Regions from separate parts of the Homo sapiens genome. Here regions 2, 3, 4 and 5 are each linked to region 1. The links are contacts of gene promoters, found by promoter capture Hi-C in blood cells and fetal thymus (Javierre and others, 2016). All regions are on one chromosome and are shown on one strand. Each heading gives the region's core, a stretch centred on a gene start or on the middle of the fragment in contact. The rest is flanking DNA. Distances are from core to core; before and after follow the strand shown.

Evidence for each region. The method cuts DNA at HindIII sites, captures the fragments that hold promoters and counts their contacts. A CHiCAGO score of 5 or more calls a contact.
Region 2: a fragment that was not itself captured here is called in contact with the fragment with the promoter of RIPK2 in region 1 in 2 of 17 cell types (M0 macrophages and neutrophils); the score reaches 9.1 in M0 macrophages.
Region 3: a fragment that was not itself captured here is called in contact with the fragment with the promoter of RIPK2 in region 1 in 2 of 17 cell types (total B cells and neutrophils); the score reaches 8.8 in total B cells.
Region 4: a contact is called between a fragment that was not itself captured here and the fragment with the promoter of RIPK2 in region 1, in 4 of 17 cell types (monocytes, total B cells, M0 macrophages and 1 more). The highest score is 8.9, in monocytes.
Region 5: a contact is called between a fragment that was not itself captured here and the fragment with the promoter of RIPK2 in region 1, in 2 of 17 cell types (total B cells and naive B cells). The highest score is 10.1, in total B cells.

Annotation. Positions count from the first base shown.
Region 1 is chr8:89,756,566-89,759,265 of GRCh38, forward strand. RIPK2 (receptor interacting serine/threonine kinase 2) reads left to right here and starts at 1,251. Exons shown (of 11, transcript NM_003821.6): 1 at 1,251-1,668. The coding sequence starts at 1,496. PARAIL (palmitic acid regulated anti-inflammatory lncRNA) reads right to left here and starts at 1,146. Exons shown (of 5, transcript NR_125822.1): 1 at 480-1,146. RefSeq lists a silencer at 997-1,116 and an enhancer at 1,657-1,726. The HindIII fragment of the contact is 1,742 bases long and covers 66-1,807 here.
Region 2 is chr8:91,021,772-91,024,471 of GRCh38, forward strand. All of the region lies in intron 1 of PIP4P2 (phosphatidylinositol-4,5-bisphosphate 4-phosphatase 2), which reads right to left. Among named protein-coding and RNA genes, the nearest start is that of PIP4P2, 18 kb to the right of the region's middle. The HindIII fragment of the contact is 3,484 bases long and covers 1-2,700 here.
Region 3 is chr8:90,940,689-90,943,388 of GRCh38, forward strand. NECAB1 (N-terminal EF-hand calcium binding protein 1) reads left to right here. Exons shown (of 13, transcript NM_022351.5): 10 at 98-210. The region is part of intron 1 of LOC105375634 (a long non-coding RNA gene); the gene reads right to left. Among named protein-coding and RNA genes, the nearest start is that of C8orf88, 43 kb to the right of the region's middle. The HindIII fragment of the contact is 7,402 bases long and covers 1-2,700 here.
Region 4 is chr8:91,051,684-91,054,383 of GRCh38, forward strand. No RefSeq gene overlaps it. Among named protein-coding and RNA genes, the nearest start is that of PIP4P2, 12 kb to the left of the region's middle. The HindIII fragment of the contact is 4,163 bases long and covers 1-2,700 here.
Region 5 is chr8:90,959,672-90,962,371 of GRCh38, forward strand. C8orf88 (chromosome 8 open reading frame 88) reads right to left here. Exons shown (of 6, transcript NM_001190972.2): 5 at 1,071-1,177. Among named protein-coding and RNA genes, the nearest start is that of C8orf88, 24 kb to the right of the region's middle. The HindIII fragment of the contact is 3,382 bases long and covers 1-2,700 here.

The sequences.
Region 1 (2,700 bases), core at 1-2,500:
AGATCGCGCCACTACACTCCAGCCTGGGTGACAGAGCACGACTCCCTCTCGAAAAGAAAAAAAAAAGCTTATTAAGCAATAAAGCACAGAGTATCAGACCATATGTTTAGTGCTGAACATTTTATTATAAATGATCAAAAATGTTTAACATACTATTGTTTACAACCTCCCACTACTGTAAAATCTAACATTGCTACTTTCATTTCAGGTAATGCAAAAATACAAGAAGCATTAGCTGTCTGTAGGCAGAAATCTGTTCGAGTCATTCCTTATTACTGAATCCCTAGAATTAATTAAACATCTAGTATGGAGTTGGTATTGTATATAACATTTGCACTCACGTCTTACAAAATAGTCATCTAAGTAGAAAGGTATTCAAGGCAGAAGGATGGAAAAACGTTTGCAGTCTTTTTTGGTTGGCATGAAACACTGACTGCATTCCTCCCAGATTTATAAGAAAGAAATATTTGCAGTCTTACCTGGAGTTAGATGGATGGACTCTCTCAAGGTTATTTTTCAATCTCTGCACATACATACTTATGGAAGTAAGAAAGAAGAGGGAGAAAAGGCAGATCCCCCATAACAGCGGTTAAACACCTGAACTTGCTCCACTATGACAGGGTTTATCATCCACCTCTCAGTCCTCAAGTGGCTGGAAATATGGAAATTGGAGTCCAGGTAGACAGGTGAGTGTACAACCTCTTAAGTGTGGAGCCCTCGGAATTCACAACACTCCCCAAATCGCTTCCTGCGCAGGCGCGGAGTCGGAAGGGAGTCGGAAAGCAGACCCCGGTGCCCCCTAATAAAGCCCCCAGCCGGACGCTGCCGCTACCGGGGTTTGGCAACTTCCGGAAGACCTGTGGCCCAAAGGAGAATCCTGTTGGGGGAGGCGGGGGCCGGTGGTCGCTAACCAATCCGACACCCGCCAGCAGGCTGAAGAGAGGGGCTTTCCCAAAAGGAAAACTTTCCCAAACCTGGGGGATGGGAAGAGAAGACAAAAGGAGCTCCCTTTCCCACTTCCCAGCCGCCCGTCCCAGCCCTCGGCCTCCGCTGCGCGACCCGGGCGGAGGATCCCGGCCGCAGGCCGAGGCGAGAGCCAGGCGGGAGGGCCGCGAGCGGGCTGCCCCTCTCCCCGCCTTGCCGTCCGCCGCTGACGTAACCTGCGAAGTTTGGGGAGGGAGGAGCTCGGGCGGCCGGAGCTGGTCGCTGCGCGCGCCGGGGGGAGGGCCGGGGCTGCGAGAGAGGAAGCTCTTTCGCGGCGCTACGGCGTTGGCACCAGTCTCTAGAAAAGAAGTCAGCTCTGGTTCGGAGAAGCAGCGGCTGGCGTGGGCCATCCGGGGAATGGGCGCCCTCGTGACCTAGTGTTGCGGGGCAAAAAGGGTCTTGCCGGCCTCGCTCGTGCAGGGGCGTATCTGGGCGCCTGAGCGCGGCGTGGGAGCCTTGGGAGCCGCCGCAGCAGGGGGCACACCCGGAACCGGCCTGAGCGCCCGGGACCATGAACGGGGAGGCCATCTGCAGCGCCCTGCCCACCATTCCCTACCACAAACTCGCCGACCTGCGCTACCTGAGCCGCGGCGCCTCTGGCACTGTGTCGTCCGCCCGCCACGCAGACTGGCGCGTCCAGGTGGCCGTGAAGCACCTGCACATCCACACTCCGCTGCTCGACAGGTAGGCAGTCACTGGGGTTCCCTGGAAGAGCCCTCAACTCCTGCATCCCCTCAAGCCCCCTGACAAGCGGGCTCTAGAGCCCAAATGGCAGTGACCGCTTGGGGCCGGCCTCACCTCGTCACCTCTAGGGAGCCCTTCAAGCTTGGGAGATAGGGAGCACCCACCCTTCAAGCTCTGGCACCGTAGGGAGCACAGGCTTCTCTGGAGATGCAGCAGTTGCATTCCTCCACACATCTCTCCATTACCCTTTCTCTCCTTCCCTCTTACTCCTAGGCGTTCTGGCTCCGTACTCCAAAAATCAGCAATCACTGCCTAACTCTAAACGCTGGGTTTACTGAAATTGATGTGTGTTTATATATAGTGGGTGTGGGTTTTGTTTGCTTTGTTTTTTCCTTATTTTTGAAATTGGGCTGTAGGGCTGCACTGTCCAGTAGGTAGCTCTTAGCCACAGGTGGCTATTGAGCACTTGAAATGTGCCCGTCCGAATTGAAGTGTGACCTAAGTGTAAAATACCAGAGTTCGAATGCTTAGTATTTATTAAAAAAAGAACTTATAATATTTTATTATTTGTTTATTGATTATATGCTGAAATAACATTTTTGATATCTTGGGTTAAATATAAGATTAAAATTCATTTTATGTGTTTCTTTTTACTTTATGTGGCCACGAGAAAATTTTAAATTGTATGTGGTGGTGTTCACATTATATGTTTATTGGACCGCACTGCTTTAGAATCAAGGATGTTTTGCTTCTTATTGTTTTTATTTTGGTTTTGGTTTATTATGTGTTGTCAGGAACGTTTTATATCAAACTCAATACTAGCAGTTCAGTTTCTCCCAGTCTCAGTTTCTCTCACAGGGAAGATTAAGTAGAGGAAATGTGTGCTATTTTTGCCACAATAAATTGAACCAAAAGACTGTTAAATGGCCAGAAATTGTAAATGGCTTTCACTTATTGGTTTGTACAGGTTTTAAGGGAAGGTTAGCATTAGTTTCTGTTTTCAGAAGAACATTACAACCGCGTGCCATAGAC
Region 2 (2,700 bases), core at 20-2,519, 1.3 Mb after region 1:
TCCCAGGAAATAAAAATGGTCGATGAAAGCAAAGTTTTAAAATTGCTTATCCATACATATAAATTATGTAGCTGTCATGCTCTGTCTTTATATTGGAACCAGTATAATGACTGCTGGCTATGACAAGAATAAAACAAGGTGTTGGAGGAAGTCAAGAAGAAACAAAAATGAACCTAAGAAAACTAAACTTCTCAGCATGGAACAAAAATGGGAACCATGCTAATTTCAGACACAAAACAAAAATAAAGTAAATATAACAATTTTTAGTCTCAAAATTTACCTACCATTAAAAATGTAAGAAATGCACCAAAGTGTTTATGAGTAAAAAAATGTAGTATGTGGGATTAAAAACTTCAAAAACCATAACAACAACCACCACAAAAAGAATGGGGAACCAGATGAAACAAGTAGCAAAATGTTGATAACTGATGAATATAATGACATGGAAGGTCATAGTTTCACACTACTTTTGTGTATGTTTGAAAATTCCCATAATACAAAGACACACACACAGTGTTTTTTTTGAGAGTCCTAAGGTTGACTCAGTGAGTGAGTGAAGGGTGGAGGCCCACTTTCAAAATCAAGTATCTACCAGAAGTGTATATTTGTTACAAAAGTCTGAGAAAAGGAATCCTGATATACTACTCTGGAATGGGATTTCTAAAGGAGACTGCCTAACCCCTTTCTGTAACTATCTCAACTACAGGAATAGAAGACTTTTCCAAGGTAAAGTTTTGTCTTGGGACATTTAGAAAGGGCCACACTCTAACATATGATTGAAGCACGAAAGAGAACTGGTATCTCAAGAGGCTTCTGTAACACTATAAAATATAATCACAATAGCTAAGCATAATAAGAGCTATTTTTGAAATAAAGGTTTTCTATCCACTGTATTAGGTCCTAAACTTTGTGATATTTTAAAAAGAATTAGAGCATAAAACATTTTGGTATGTTTAAAATACACATATTTCTACCTGATCCTTGGGTTATAATATAGGATTTTTTTCAGACTGCTAAGGATTAGCAACAAGTGGTATTCGTTCAAATGATTCATAAGACAAATTTCTGCAGCAGCCAAGGCTCTGAAAGAGGCCACTTTGAAATGACGATATGCTTATGTTTCTGGGAGGCTTATAACAGAACACTGCCAAACACTGAAATTCAAAAGAAGCTGTACATGTCTTAAATTATAAAAATAATTTTAAATCCATGAAAAGAATTTGAGCGTGATCCAGAGTGACCTGTAATGTATTAATCAAGAAGAAAAAAACATGTTAAAGAAACAATGAGTCAACAATATACTTAAGGTCTTGCAATTTGCAGATTACTTTGTCAGATCTCAATAAAGACATTATTCTTGGGGAAAGAATATGTACCTCACTAGAAATTCAAGACACACTGCCTGGTATATGATAATGAATATTATTTTAATAATTATTTGCAGTAGCATTATTAACAAAAGTTGCTTCCTCTCTGGCCTTTTCCTTGAGTTGTACAGTAACATTACATAGTTCTCTCGTAATCCCAGGTCTCTATCTTACACAGTATGATAGAAAGGAAACTTAAATGCAAGACAGTTTTATAAAGAAAACAAGGGCATTAGGGGGAGAGGAGGAAGTGACATATTGCTACACTACATAAAAGGACACCAACCCATACACTCCTCAGCTTTGCTCAAAGAAATCTCCTAAGAAAATTTCAGAGGGTGATCTTAACAATCATTAAAAGGGCATTAGAGCCAGTAAAACCCTGTGAATTTTTCTTCTAAGATTTGTACTATATAATTTTTAATCTGCCAAAAAAAAAACGCCTTCAATGACAGAAATATGCTCAAATCTACTCTTTTGGAGGCTTGGGAAGTGGAGGGACATGGACAGAACAAGCAGTGAAGATTATAAATCTAATATAAGAGAGACCATAAGCTCCACGAGGCCAGGGGCACATCTGGTTTGTCCACAGCTACTTCACCAGCGCTTGTCATAATGCCTGGTCTATGATGATGCTTACTAAATGTTTATTCAATGGTTGAATTAATTAATAAATCAGCGAGTCACTAAAATTTATTAGACATATCTATTTGTCTTGGAAAAATAACACCAAGTATTAGGTTGCTGCAAAAGTAACTGCGGTTTTTGCTACGACTTTCAAATAGCAAAAACCGCAATTACTTTTGCACCAACCTAATACATTAACCCTACTCTCCTTGCAGAGGAGCTAAGGTTCTAGCAGGGGAGTGCAGCTTGATGGAAAACAAGGGCTTCTTTTATATAGAAGACAACTCTCTCCAAATAATGCACTGAGAGAGGTGAAGTAGTCAGGGGACACTGGCCTGGCCCACCAGATAAATGGAATCAATCCAAGAGATCAATAGAATGACAGATGCTGCAGCCTAATTGCCACAATAAACAGTGCTTCCTGGCCTTTCATTTCAATGTTCTATCCATTACTTCAGCCTTAAACTGATTTAGACAGATTATTTCTTGTACTTTTGGCCTTTCCCTTTCTCTCAGATTTTACCTCAAGGAAACATTTACTTGTAGCTCCATCTCCTCTTATATGGGACTTGTAATTCTGGAGATTCCACAGTTAGTAAACCTACAATAATTAGAATAAGATTATTAATTTAAATGATTAATAATTGGATTATTATAGATTAAACCTATAATAATTAAATTAACTTAGATTTATTCATTTTGTCTC
Region 3 (2,700 bases), core at 171-2,670, 1.2 Mb after region 1:
TCTGTTTTTGTGAGGAGGAATGGGATGGGCAGTAGGAGTCAGCTTAAATCGGGCTCCGTGACAGCCAACGCAGTGACCCTCGCCCCTTCCTTGGCAGCACATCATGCTTGTGCAGCGGCAGATGTCTGTGATAGAAGAGGACCTGGAAGAATTCCAGCTCGCTCTGAAACACTACGTGGAGAGTGCTTCCTCCCAAAGTGGATGCTTGCGGTAAGTGCTCCGACTCCTGCACCTTAGGCCTTTGGCAGCCTGGGAATACAGTGAAGGCATTTCTTACTTTAGACAAGGCTGGGGGTCTAGAAGACAGATATTTGAGAATCCTCACATTAAATTATACAGAGCATTCCACCTGGGTGATGTCATTTGCTGCCTTTAACTGAATGTTTTCTCTTTAATCTTTAAACCCCGTGTCGTCTAATCTTTAAACCCCGTGTCGTCTGATCATTGGGGCACCAAGTAAAATGAAATAGAACAACTTGAATGAAGAGACTGAATTTCAAATAAGTTGAAATTCCCTTTTGCATCCAGGCAGCCCACACTCTGATTTAAAATCATCTCTGGTAGATGAGGCGCCAACTCTAGGACATCTAGCTGTGATTGCTCCCTTGGCAGTACGCCCTGTGGCCTAATGACCATTTCAGCCATTAGGAAATTGCAGGCATCCCTGAAGTCATGATTTCAGGCCTTGGTCATTAAAAGAAAATGAAGCAGCAGCAGATCTTTTCTTTCCTCTTTCCATGGGTACCACCCAGCTCAGGCTTCGGATATCTCAAGCTACTAAAATATACTATTCCTCATCTTCAATTTTTTCACTCCAACTGGTTCAATAAATAGTTACTATAATAATTTTCTGGAAACAGTTATCATAGAATTCCCTTAACTGGGAACCTAAAGTAACTCTCTAATGAGTATCTTATCAAAGGCTAGACATTTGTCCTGACTCTATATTTAATCCTACTGACAGACCCAGGAATCCATATCACTACTATTATTTGTTCTCCCTCATCTAAACACTCTGCCTCGGTGATGCACAGATAGAATTTCTGATATAATCTGTTTGTTCCCCACTGTGCCTCAGACCTGGCTATTCTTCCTCTCAGAAATGTGCACCCAGCTGCAAGTCTCTGCCAGCCCATGCACTGCCTCAAGTTCAGAGCCCAGGTCCAAATTCATCTGCTTTTAGAAAACTTCCACAACCAAGTCTAACCCTACCTTATGAGCTTGCTTAAACTATATTTCATAATGCTCTTCAAATGTTGCTTTGGGAAGGTTTTTAGAAAATGTGTGTGTGTTTGTGTATGTGTGTGTACATGTGTGCATAAACAGATACTTCATGTCTCTGGGTGTTTTGCTTTTCCTCTCAGTGTTCAATTAATTATATTTTATTCATACCCCAGCAGAATATTTCTCTAGCTAAGAAGTCTGGCTCTGGAAATAAACATGGAATTTTACTAGCTTTGTGGTTTTGAGAAAGACCCTCACTGGCTCTAAGCCTTAGTTTCCTCCTCAAGAGGCTCATGAGATGGTTGGGAGGATTCAGTGAGACAGTCCATATGCAGTGCTCAGCACAATGCTTCCCATCCACTGAAGACGTGAGCTGAAGTCACTATTGCGTTTACTACTGTTTCCTGGTTGTCTGGGTGGCTGACCTCCTCTCTAGAGTATGAGTACAGTACTTCCTCAGTGCCACTAACAGCTCATCATCTTCCAGTAGTGCCTTTGAAACAAGAACACAGGAAATGCTGTGTTTCCATGATTATTTTTATTATTCTATTTCACGCCAGACTCAGAGGGCACAAATCAAAACCCCATTTTAGTCCTTTTTACTTCAGTGACTCAAGACTTGCAAAGGTGGGAATATGTGTAGTTTTTAAGAGCCCACTCATTTGAAAATAAAATTGAATATTTAAAAATTCAGGGTGCAGTGGCTCACGCCTATAATCCCAGCACTTTGGGAGGCCGAGGCAGGCAGATCACGAAGTCAGGAGTTCGAGACCAGACTGACCAACGTGATGAGACCCCGTCTCTACTAAAAATACAAAAATTAGCTGGGCATGGTAGCATGTGCCTGTAATCCCAGCTACTCAGGAGGCTGAGGCAGGAGAATCGCTTGAACCCCGGAGGCGGAGGTTGCAGTGAGCCGAGATCGCGCTACTGCACCCCAGCCTGGATGACAGAACGAGACTCTGTTTCAAAAAAAAAGAAAAATGCAAACAGTACCTATATATACACCGTTCACAGTGTAAACTTCCCAAAATAGAGCTCAGTAAACTCTTTTTAATGAGGATACAGAGAAGATAAAGTCTATTTCAGTGTATTACAATCTCCAGGGATTGAGTGCATGTTTTATATTTATAAAAAAGGCGCACAAGTTTATTTTTTAGGTTCAGAAACACTACTTTAATGGGTGTTGGGAAAATGACCTCGAGCTACTAGAACAGCCCCAGGGAAAGGGAAACAGGCTGTGGGGGAGTGAGAGAGTGGATAGATTTGTGCCGCCTGCTGCAAATTCCATTCTCTCAATAACCACAATAAATTGCTCCATCAGCTCCTGCTGTGAAGTAGAGGAAAGGAGAGCATCTTTTTCCTGTAAGATAGATTTTCAGCCTCTCTGTTTACTTTGCAAGATTGGTTTGTTTCATACAATTCTTCGTTCACTTCTTATTGCTGATTTTTCAGGTAATTTCTTTTACTGGAATT
Region 4 (2,700 bases), core at 46-2,545, 1.3 Mb after region 1:
TTTTTACATGGAGGGAATAGGATCAGCTTCACAGACAGTGAAGCAGAAATGTGGACGGTCAACAGCAAAGCCCTGAAGAGGAAGCATGCTTGGTTCGTGTAGGAACAGCAATGAAGTCTGTGTAGCCCGATGAAAGGGAGCAAGGAGAGAAGGGGTAGAAAGTAGATATTAGACCAGAGAAGTTTGTCATGGACTGCGATGGGGTAGATCACATGGGGCCAGTTGGGCTTTTCCTCTGAGATGAGAAAACTATAGAGCTCTTAAAGGCTTTTGAAGAGTGACCTTATTTGACATAAGTTTTAAAAGGATTACAATGACTACTATGTGAAAATCGGATTATAGGTAACAAAGGAGTGGAGGTTGAAAGAGGGATCAGATTCTGGACATATTATGAAGCTAGATCTAACATGATTTGCTCATCGATGTGATGTAGAATATGAAAGACAGAAATCTTTGAATACTTTTCTGATTATTTATTCTTGATAATTTTTTTGAATTGGAAGCCTAGATCAAAGACTATACCCATTTAAAAGTCTTTCAGATATATACTGTCAAATTGTCCTCTGAAACCTGAAAAAACATTTTTACACATTTTTTTTTGAAACAGCGTCTGAGACTATTTCTCAGCAGCATAGGAAAATAACATGGTATTATCATTATTTTTAATATTGACAGTTTAATAGGGAAATATGTTTTTGTATCTTAGTTTTATCCTTAATGATTCTGAATATTTAATATTTTTATTGGTCAATGGTATTGGCCATTTTTTTTCCACTAGGGAGTTCATCTATTTATCATTTAATATTTTTAATTATAATTCTTATTTAAAATTTTACTTACTTATTTATAAAATCCATTCTCTTTTCCTCCTGGAAACCCAGATAAGCTACATTTCTCAGCCATTCTTGCACTTAGGGGTAGTCATATGTCCAAATTCTGGGTAGTGGAACATCAGTGGAAGTGATGTAGACTACTTGTAGACCATGTAGGCCATGAAAACCTTCCTTGTATGATCCTCCACACTCTTTTCTACTCAAAGCTAAGTGGAAAGAAAGAACCCCAAAGGAGCCCACAGGAGTCACATGGTGAAAATGGCACAAGAAGGGAGGATCTTGGCAAACTAAATCACTACTTATAGGAGAGTTGCCCACTAAGAACACCGGTTTTGAAGTGTTGTAAGAAATATACTTTATTGTGTTAAGTCACTGAGATTTCAGGGTTTATCAATTACAGCAGCAGGTGTATTTCCTAACTATTAAAGAAATATATAGAAAGAATTGTAAGAATTTCTTTACCTTCATTAATTAAATATGTGGACCTTTTGCTCCATGGAGAAATGTAAAACTTTCTTCTTTGACTGGACACTGATCTATGTTTCCTGGTACTGAGAGACTGACCCACTCCTTTTACTTCCTTCTTTAAGCGAACAGTTCCAAGAACAGAAGGTAATGGAGTCAAACAGGTCAAATCACTCTGACTCTCACTCTCATGTTCTCTCTCACAGATACCTCTTGTCTAAAGGATTGCAATACCTTCTGACCAAAGCAGACAAACTGGCAACATTGTTAATTTGTCATAGAAAGCCTCTTTGTTTCCTGTTTTCCAGAAAATACTCTCTTTGGATATTCTCCCTGCTGCAACACCCTGTATGAAGTGCCCAACACCTGCAGTCTCAGACAACTTTTGAAAGTTATAAACCTGTAATAAATAAGGCGAATATTTTTTCCTAGTTTGTAGTTTCTCTTTCAATGTTTGCTGTGTTTAAAACATTCTTACTGTCTATGTGGTGTCTCTGTATATAATCTTTCTTTAGATTCTCTGTGATTTACAGCCCATGAAATGTCAAACTGTCTTCTTTTCTGATAGAATTCCTGTCCTCATTCTTTCTTGCTTCATGTTAAGCCCAGAGTACATGATACTCTTAAATTAAATGGCATTCAGATGTGTGCCATTCTACTCATTGTTCTTTCACCTTTAGTGAAAGTGTGGGTAGAGTGTTGTTTCCCACTTGGTTCCTCTCACACCTATTGAACATTCACGCTGAAGGCCGCTCTCCCTCTTTGGTCATCTGACACTTGATATGCCTCATGTCACTCAGTCTTTCTGAGGGATACCGCCTTGTTTGCCTGGACAGTTTGTTACCAGCCTCACTTGTCACATATTCTCACTGATCTCACCGATCACCCTAGCCACATTAGTCAACACTAACTAGTCAGACTAGCTAAACTGATCCTACTCAGCTGTCTCTAACAGTGGCCTGCATAATGGGTGGGGATTTTAATTTACCAATTACATATATATATATATATATATATGTATTATATACATTAGGAAGATGTAGTAGTTGCCGATGGCTGCCATAACGACTTACCCACAAACTTAGTGTCTTAAAACAATGCAAATTTGTCTTATAATTCTGAAGGTCAGAAGTCCAAAATGGTTAACCTTGGTCACTGGGTTAAAATCAAGCAGTCAGGAATTCTGCATTCCTTTGTGGGATATCTAGTGGGGAATCCATTTTCTTACTTTTTCTGGCCTCAAGAGACCATTAGCATTCCTTACCTCCTGGCTGACTCCCTCCTCCATCTTCAAAGCCAACAATGAAGCATCTTCAAATCTCTGACTCTGACTCTCTTGCTTTCTCATTTCACTTATAAGGACCCTTGTGATTATTTACATGGATAATCCAAGAAAACCTTT
Region 5 (2,700 bases), core at 128-2,627, 1.2 Mb after region 1:
AATTATAATTTGAGGAAAAAAATACTATGAATTCCAAAGAATTAGAATACCAAAAATGGAGATAGAAGGTAGTAGTGTTTATCTCCCATTCGAACTGTTCTCAGTATACCTATATTCTGAATCTCATTTCAGAAGAGTCCTAGCTGCCTTTACCTATATAAAGGTATTTACGAAAACTCTAATAGGAAGTTAAATTCCAGTCAAATGTAAGTAGAGACCACAAAGAATGGGAATCATTTACTAAAAGCATAATGAGAGAAAGGTATCATACTCAGTAATCTCATGCATTATTTTATTAATCCTAACAGCCAGAGATTATCATCCTTATCAGCAATTGCAAAACTTATCATCCTTATCAGCAATTCAATGAGGTTAAGTGACTTGTCCAAGTTCGAACTACCGGTACACAGAATGGAGCTACAATTTGAAGCCATGTCTGATGACAAAATCCATGTCCTTTCCAATGAATATCCTAAGAGATGCATGTATGTATTTATTATGTGTATTTATTTAGATGGAATTTGATAAGGTAACACAGAAATATAAAGGGCTAAGAATAGCAAAGACATGTTAAAGAAAAATACATGAGATGATTTGTTATAATGTATAAAAAGACTAATTGAACAGAATGGATAGCCCATTAACAGACCATGCATACATTGCCACAAAGATGTCAGAGAAGTACCCTTTCAATAAATATTTTTAAAATGACTGGATATCTATGTAGAAAAAGGTAAAACTTGATGCCCACCTCACATCATAGAGTAAAATTAATTCCAGGTGGACAATATAATTTAATTGAAAAAATAAAACTTTTAGAGTATGGGATAATATTTTCATGACCTTTCCATTAAAAATATTTCTTAAACAAAATACAGCTATTCCATTCTATTTTTTGAACAGAGTTACTTTATAATAATTGGTTATATCTTTAGATTTTTGTAGTTTTCTGAATTACTTATATCTTATAATAAGGAAGGTTAAAAATCTAGAGGTAGAGTCTGATGAAAATGTTAAAGAAAAATATTTTGTAATATAATATTACAATACAAACTTAGAAAACTACTTACTGGTTTTTGCAGTACAATGGGATGATCAGGCAGAAAGTCTGGTTTTTTTCTGCAGATGGAAACACTTGAGAGCTTCAACAGGAAATCTCTGCTGTATTTAATTCTCTCTGTAGATATTAAACATCAAATATAATGTTAGGAAATGTAGGGCTGTCTAGATCACTTTTTGGTTCATTTCTTTCTGGATGTCCTCTATTCATTATATAAAATGATGAGTCGTGTGTCTATGCAAAAGAGAAGGAGAAAAAAGGCTTTGACAAGCATCTACTGCCTCCAATTCTCCTTTTACATAGAAAGAAAACCAAGTAACCAAGGAAACAATGAAAGAAATATAATTAAGAAAATGGGAAATGCATGGCTTTTTTCATCTGGTTATTCAGGTCTAGTAAAATGATCTTGTGTAAAATATAACCACAGTAATAACTATTGGGCAATTCAGATCTGCCAAAATGTTACTTTAATGAGTCTATCAAGTCTCAATCAATACTAAAAACTTAACACAATAAAAATAAATTCAAGAAACATTTATTGTACATCTTACTATGTATCAGGAACTGTGCTAGGTAATAATGAATAGGACCCAAGATAGGGCCCCTATCTTCAAGGAGAACAATGTTTCAAATATCTGCAGATTTCAAATCAGAAATGATTACCAGAAACAATCACCAAGACAGATTATATGCTGTCCCAGAAGACAATGGAATAATATTTTTAATGTGCTAAAAGAAAAGAACGGTAACCCAGAATTTCATGTCCAGTGGGGGGGAAAAAACCCTCAGAAATACATGTGAAGGAAAGACATTTTCAGATAAAGTAAAACTGAAAGAATCCATCACTAGCAGATGTGACCTTCAAGAAATGCTAAAGGAATTTCTACAGGCTGAAGGGAATTATACTAGATGGAAACTTTACTGTTCAGAAATGAAGAGCAAAAGAGATGGTAAATAGGTGGGTAAGTATAACAGATTCCTTTTTTTCTCTAAGTTTTATTTTAAGAAATATGTATTACTGTTAAAAGCAAAAGCCACCACAGATAATATATAGATGAAGGGTGTGGCTATGTTTCAATACATTTTTATTTATAAAAACAGGAATTGGTCTGTAAACCATAATTTACTGACCCCCTAAACATTACATTAAAGACTACAAATTGACAGAGTGGATTTAAAAAATAAGAAGACCCTATTATATGCTGTCTGCAAGAGACACATATTAAATATAAAGGCATATAAGTTGAAAGTAAATGGATATAAAAAGATACACATGAAAAGACTAGGAATAAGAAGGGTTGAATTACTATCCTTACATCCTATCAACTAACAGGTAACAATTATTAATGTGTTGTTCCTAATACACAGTTCTGAAATACATCGAGGAAAAATTAACTTACCAAAAATTTTGGGTCTGGCTTCTTTCATTTAACATTTTTGAGGTTCATCCTTAATCTGGAACATTCTACGTAGCCAAACCATCAATCAAGTGTGAGAACAGAATAAAGATATTTTCAAATATGCAAACTCAAAGAATTCACCAACCCAATACCCTTTTTTCACGAAACTCCTGGAGAATGTACTTGAGCAAAATGAGGACATAAATCAATAAAGAAGAAAACATAAAATTCAAGAAATGG